Linked DNA regions of Homo sapiens: region 2 is linked to region 1. The links are contacts of gene promoters, found by promoter capture Hi-C in blood cells and fetal thymus (Javierre and others, 2016). All regions are on one chromosome and are shown on one strand. The core of a region is centred on a gene start or on the middle of the fragment in contact, and the rest is flanking DNA. Distances in the headings are between cores, read along the strand shown.

The links. The method cuts DNA at HindIII sites, captures the fragments that hold promoters and counts their contacts. A CHiCAGO score of 5 or more calls a contact.
Region 2: a contact is called between a fragment that was not itself captured here and the fragment with the promoter of SLU7 in region 1, in 1 of 17 cell types (M0 macrophages). The highest score is 5.1, in M0 macrophages.

Annotation. Positions count from the first base shown.
Region 1 is chr5:160,417,313-160,420,953 of GRCh38, reverse strand. It overlaps SLU7 (spliceosome associated SLU7), which reads left to right and starts at 1,873. Exons shown (of 16, transcript NM_006425.5): 1 at 1,873-1,931. RefSeq lists enhancers at 1,462-1,531, 1,542-1,661, 2,112-2,161. The HindIII fragment of the contact is 5,685 bases long and covers 1-3,641 here.
Region 2 is chr5:163,372,464-163,376,104 of GRCh38, reverse strand. The region is part of intron 1 of LOC105377700 (a long non-coding RNA gene); the gene reads left to right. Among named protein-coding and RNA genes, the nearest start is that of CCNG1, 63 kb to the left of the region's middle. RefSeq lists an enhancer at 2,236-2,737. The HindIII fragment of the contact is 6,750 bases long and covers 1-3,641 here.

The DNA.
Region 1 (3,641 bases), core at 624-3,123:
TTCCCACAGTTCACCATATATGCATTTTAAGCTGCAGATCAGCTGAGAGAGAGGAGTTGATTCCATATTACTCTTTCACGAAAGGCTTGACACTATACCTGACATAGACATGGTTCTCAATATATGCCAGTTCATCATCTCTTTTTCCCTGGCATTTCAGGACCAATATTGATTGAATGATTCATTCATTCACAAATATTTATTGAATACCTATTAAATGCTGGACATTATACTAGGTTATAAGAAAAGAGCCTAACTTAAGGTGAAGAAAAGAGGAAAGACAGAAAAATATGCATACCTTTATTGTCCCTTCACTGTTCTTTTTCCTTTATCCCCATCCTTTATTTCCTCCTGTATCTCCTAAATTTTACATCATCATATTATATTATCAGCACTCAAAGTGTTAATTTTTAAGACTAAATCTGCACAACACCTATAGCTTCCAAGTGGGGATTCTCTATCTACAGAGGTTTTGAGGTGCAAGGTTTGTCTTAGGATGTCTTCTTTTTTTCACCAACAGAAAGCATTGTTTCTCCTAAGGTCATGCAGCAGCTGTAAACCATAACCACCCTCTCTGAATAACCACTGTTTTCTTACTAATGATGCCCTCAGACCAGCTTTGCTATTCCTATTACTGGAAATACTCAATTGCTAAACCACCCTCACTCATAACAGCACTTAGTCCCTAATCAGTTTCTCCCAATCCTTCTTTACAAACAGCAACCCATCCAGAACCAATCCCGGCTTTCCTAGACCTTCCTCAGAACCCTCCAGAGGGACCTCAAGTCTTAGAAAAGATTCAACTGTCTTGTCCTGCGCTTTCTGATTCCTCTTCGAGATGCGCTCTCCTGGTGGTTTTGGCTAATTAGGCCTTAACACTCCTAAGCAAATTTCAGGAATATTTTTAAGTGGAAAAAAACAAAGCCTGAGTGATTCATAGACTCTATTCACTTTCACGCTAGTCTCTGACACTGTTTCTTCATCTACTGCCCTGTAAAAGCAAAATTAATATTTATGTTCCTAAACTCCAGGTATTGCAAATTCTTAATACGAAAAAAATAGATTCTATTATGTTGGGCTATTTTATTGAGGCAGGAATGGTAGCTACTTTTACTTTTACATTCAAAAAGGATACACGTTATGGGGGGGAGGGGGAGAACAACCAGAATAGAAAGCACAAAGAAAAAAAAAAATCACAAGAAATTCTACCACGAAAATTAGTTTATTTTCCAGTGTTTTATTTCACATGTATACTTTTAAAGAAGGGATGGGATAGCATAGATACTGTTTCTCCAAAATGGAAATTGTCGTATTTTTTTCTAATGATAACATGCCTTATGTTCTCACAGCACCTGGTATTCTTTTCATAGCAACTTTTCACAGCTGCTAAATCTGAATAGTTGTTTCGGTGTCTTTCGCACTCTGATGTAAATCTGAGGGAAGACACTGTTCACCAAATCCCCAGCATGTTACACAGCCTGGCTACTAATTAGTGCCAAGTTTAACTGCTTTTTTTTTTTTTTTAAGCTGATACGTCACCAACTTCCCCATTCATTTCATAGTCCCCTGGTGAGGCTTAAGCTCTTGTCTGTTCTGGTCTTTTTTTTTTTTTTTTAACTTCCTAAAATTCTCCGATTCTAAAAGAAAGCTCCTAAATAGAAGCCAAAAAGTAGCCGCCCAACTTGAAACTCCCCACAAGCCGGGTAAATAGCGCGATACGCAGCAGCTAGAGTTCTCGCGTTTCCCACGGCGCAGGAGCACTGGAGGGCCCCCCTCCGCCCCCGGCCCCGCCAGGAAATTAGTGCGCATGTGCCGGTCATCCGGAAGTTACCGCAGTGGCCGCCGGAATTAGGCGAAAAGCCGGAAGTAAACATTACGAGATTGGCTTGGATTCTGTCGGATGGACTTGGGGCTAGCTGCGGCGGGGCTGGGTAAGAAAATATTGTTAGAACTTGCGGGCGACGGGGAGTTGGGGAACCTGAGAAAATGAGTCGAAGGCTCCTAATTATTGGATATATCTTCACGGGGGTGATGAGCCCTCAGGTGTTGAGGGAGCGAGGACGGGGGACCGAAAAGCCACTGTCCTGAGACCCATTCATGGCACTCGTGCCCTGCCAGGCCAGGCCTGCGTCTTCAGGGAAACAGTCGGGATAACTATGAGAGTGTCGCCTTTGTGGCGGTGCCTCGAAGACCTTGAGCAATCCCCGGACTGCGAGCAGGGAAAGCTGCTTCCAGTACCCAAATTGACAGACTGTATTTCCTCGCCAGAAAAATTTACTTGAGCTTCAGTTTTTCCTGTTAAGTCGAGATGATCCGACTTCAGTGGGGTATCATGCGGGTATAAATGAAAACATCTATGTAAGTAAAGCGCTAAACAGTGTCTTACGTAAGCCCTCAGTAAGTGGGAGCTATTACTGTTTTTAGTTGGAGAAAATAGGTCCCTCCACAGCGACGGAAACTAGTGCGTACAACTTGGTGACTATAATACTTTATTCAGTTTTAGTTTTTAATATTTTAGGCCCAGAAGCCAATGTTCTGTGGACAAGTATAACATACTGGTTTAGAGAACTGACTTTGGAGTCAGAGTTGTGTTTGAAGTCCTTATTTCTTACTACAATGTGTTCTTGGCTGAGGATCTTACCTCTCAGAACCTGTTTCTTCACTGTAAAATGGTGTTCATCAGACCTATCTACTGGGCTTATTGTGAAGATTAGATGAGGTGATACACGGTAGGCTCGAGAAATGGTAGCTGTTTTAATAAAGATTAAATTTACCGTTGTTGTGCTTCTCTTCGCAGTATATTTAGGCCATCAGTTTATATGTTACACAAATATATGTGGAGGTTTTCTATAGGTCAGACATAGAAGAGAACACCTTTGAGAAGCATCGTAGACCCCCAGGCATTGAGCACTTTCCACTGGGAAAGAGCTTGTGTAAAGGCCCAGTGTCTACAGGGAGCACGGTTTGTTAGAGGAACTAGAGGAACTACAAGAAGGTCTATGTAGTTAGTAGAGAAGGAAGCGGGGATAGTTGTAATGGTGAGGCTGGAAGGTAGGCAGGTGCCAGACCATGGTGGACCGTGTAGGTGTGTTAAAAAGATGTCAGTTTTTAGAGTACGAATGATAAAATCCTTTGGAGCGTCATTTTTTTTTTTTTTTTTTTGAGACGTAGTCTAGCTCTGTCGCCCAGGCTGGAGTGCAGTGACGCAATATCAGCTCACTGCAATATCGGCCTCCTGGGTTCAGGTGATTCTCCTGTCTCAGCCTCCCGAGTAGCTAGGATTACAGGTGCACGCCACCACGCCTGGCTGATTTTTTTGTATATGCTTAGTAGCGACGGGGTTTCGCCAGGTTGGCCAGGCTGGTCTCAAACTCCTTACCTCAGGTGATCCGCCCGCCTCGGCCTCCCAAAGTGCTGGGATTACAGGTGTGAACCATCGCACCCAGGTGTCACTATTCGTTATGATAGTTATTAGCCACTTGTGGTTATTGAGACTGGAAATGTGATTAGTTTAAATAAGTGTAAAACCCATATCAACTTTTAAAGACAGAGTTGTTTTTTTTCTAATTCAAATTTGCAATTATAATATGTTGGATATATTACATTAAATAAAATCTTGTAAAAGTAATTTTACCTGTTTA
Region 2 (3,641 bases), core at 791-3,290, 3.0 Mb before region 1:
GAATTGTGGAATAAAAGGGTGGCAAGGAATGAAAAACAAAACAAACAAACAAAAAAACTGCATTAGTTTGTTTGCTGTTAAAGACATACCTGAGACTTGGTAATTTATACGGAAAAAGAGGTTTAATGGACTCACAGTTCCACATGGCTGGGGAGGCCTCACAATCATGGCGGAAGGCAAAAGGCACGTCTTACATGGCAGCAGGCAAGAGAGAGAATGAGAACCAAGTGAAAGGGATTTCCCCTTATAAAACCATCAGATCTTGTGAGATTTATTTACTACCATGAGAACAATATGGAAGAAACCACCCCCATGATTCAACTGCCTCCCACTGGGTGCCTCCCACTGGGTCCCTCCCGCAACACGTGGGAATTATGGGAACTATAATTCAAGATGAGATTTGGATGGGGACCCAGCCAAACCATATAAAAAACCAAACCCAATAATAGATTATCCCGATAGCTTCACTTCACCTCTGTGTATTTGGAAAGTGGGGTATAATGGCTAGTTTAATTTACTGTCAAATATCTGATTCACAAGGTTAAGTACACTATACATCATCAGTATAACTGGTTTGAAGAGTAGAAAACCTCCAAATTGTTTCTTTTAATTTATTCAGTACCAGTTATCTGTTTTGGAGAATCTTTGAGATGTAACAGGGTAAGCAGTCTATTCACTGTAGTAAATTAAGCTGTTATCTGGTGACCTGAGCCATGCAGATAATCAGAATTAGATAACTATTAGCAGGTAAGAATTTCCAGGGATTATAGGTTCACTCTGACTGGAATACAATATATTGAAGCAGTTTTCTCATATGCTATTGTTCATGGAATTAATTGGTTTTGAGTATTTCTGACCTTGTATAATTGCTGTGGTCAAATATTAAATATAGTCATTATTACAGGTAATGAAGCTGTTTTTAAAAATTATTTTGAAAATGAATACTTACATATTCAAAGGATTATTATGGCCATAAAAAGCTATTCCCTTATCTAATAATCTGTCATTAAGTGAAACAGCTCTAGAAATGTGTTGGAAAAGATTTGGTGATCCAATAATTTAACTTCCTTAGTTAACCTATAAGGAAAACAAGGTATGCAGAGACACAGATCTCTGCACACAAGATCACCCAGAATGATAATTCAAACCCAGTTCTTCTCTTCTGAAATTGCCTTCAATAACACACAGGAAAACTGCTTATTATAGTAGAGACAGGCATTGTTTTTGACCAAAATAGAGTAACACATTTTAATCACCACCTAACTCATGAGACATGCTTCCAAATTATTTGAGGCTTAAATTATTTGTTATTATGGAAATTTTCAAACATTACAGAAGTAGAGAGAAAAAGAAAGTGAACCTTAATATACATATTTTGCAGTTTCCACATTATAAATATTTTGTTCACTTTATTTTTCATCTCCACTACAACTACCATTGCTACTATTGCTGGTGGTAGTGTTAAATTTTGCTGGTATATTTTATATTTTAGAGTCCTTAATATCATGTCATCTAACTTATGTTACTAGTTTATTATGCATCCCTGACTTATAAGGACATTTTAAAAAACAAAATCACACTGCTGTTATCGTACTAACGAAATGAACAATACTTTCTTAACATTATTTTATACCCAGTTCATATTCCATTTCCTTGATTACTTCAAAAAGACTTTTTTAAAGTTAGTTTGTTTGAATCAGTGTCCAAACAAGGTGTTCACGTTGCATTTGGCATTTATATTCTTAACCCTTTTAATCTATAATAGTCTCTTTTAATTTTGTCATCTTTTCTCATTTATTTTGTCAATATTATTGATTGAGAAATCTATTGTAAATATTTATAAGGTACAGTGTGATGTTATGATATCTGTATGCAATGTGGCATGATTAAATCAAGCTAATCAACATATTCTTCACCTTGTTTACCTATCTTTTTTATGGTGAGACATTTGAAATGTACTCTCTTAGTAATTTTGAAATATATAATACATTATTATTGACTATAGTTACTCTGCTGTGCAGCAGATCTCGCAACCTATTTCTCCTCCCTATCTAAAACTTTGTACCCTTTGATCAACAGTTCTCCATTTGCTCCCTCACTGACTTGTTACACCCCCTTCCCCTGCCCCCTTTCACCCTCTGCCAGCCTCTGGTAAGCATCATTCTACTCTGTGCTTCTATGAGTTCAGCTTTTTAAGATTCTCCATCTAAGTTGATCATGTGATATTTGTTTTCTGTGCCTCGCTTATCTCACTTAGCTTAATGTCCCCTGGATTCATTCATGTTGTCACAGATGACAGAATTTTCTTTTTTTAAGGCTGAACAGTATTCCATTGTGTACATATGCCAGATTTTCTGTATCCATTCATTTGTTATTGGACACTTAGGTTGATTCCCTGTCTTGGCTATTGTGAGTAATGTGTTTGACTGTTTTGCATGTCTTTTGTTTCTTTCTTCTTCTCTTGCTGTCTTTCTTTGTGGTTTTGTGACAGGGCAGGTCTCACTATAACACAGAACTCCATAACAACTGTTTTACTACTGACTGAGTGCTTAAGTTAAATATTAAAAGCTGAAAGGGACAGTGCCCTTATACAAAGGCTGGAATGTAATAAAAGCTCATTAAGAGTTTTGCCTAGGCCTTTTCTGGGTCTTAAAGGATGTAAAAATAAAGCAATTCTTAACAGGATCTGTTTAAGATTAAACAAGTTTTATTGGGAGTCTGTAGAAACTCCCCAAACCTCCATGATTTAGCAGGAGACAAGATAAGGGTAATCACTTCAGCACTCGGACCCATTTAGTAAATACACTGAGTAAACTTACCCATCAGGAAATTTACTGAGGCTCCAGAGGAAGGTCTTCAGGACTCAGTTCTTAGTTGTAGATTAAAAGAAGTTAATCACTTATGTCTTTAGATGAATGCACACTTACACATCGACATATAGCTTAGAAGTTATATAAGCTCTGGAAGACTTTGTAATTTTGAGTTGGTCTGGTGATATTTTCCAGGCCTTGTCCCTATAACCAGTTACAGAAATGAAAACTCTCTTCCTCCCCAGTTCATCTGCATCTCATTATTGGGCCACGAGAAATAGAAGCCTGACCCTCAGTTTGGTTCCAGAACAGTTTTATGGTTTTCTGCGGTGGTATGCTTTCAATCCTTTCTTTTTGCATGTTGCAGAAATACTATAGGTTTTTGCTTTGTGGCTACCATGTTTATGTTTACATAAAACATCTTATCCTTCTAACATGCTACTTTAGGCTGATAATAACTTAACTTTACTCACATACAGAAACTCTACACTTACACGCTCCCTTCCCACTTTTTATAATTTTGATGTCAAGATTTACCTTTGTTTGGTAATTTGTATTCTTTAATAATTTATAATTATATATAATTTTATATATAATTATAATTTAATAATTTATTGTAGATACAGTTGTTTTTAATAGTTTTCTTTTAACCCACATAGTAGTGATACAAATGCTTTCCACATCACTGTAACAGTATTTGAGAATGCTGAGTATGACTATGTATTACTTGTATTATTGAGTTTTTTACTTTTGTGTGTCTTTTTGTTATTAATTAGCTTTTATTTCAGCCTAAAAATGAATTTTAGCAATTCCTATAGCATAGGCCTAATG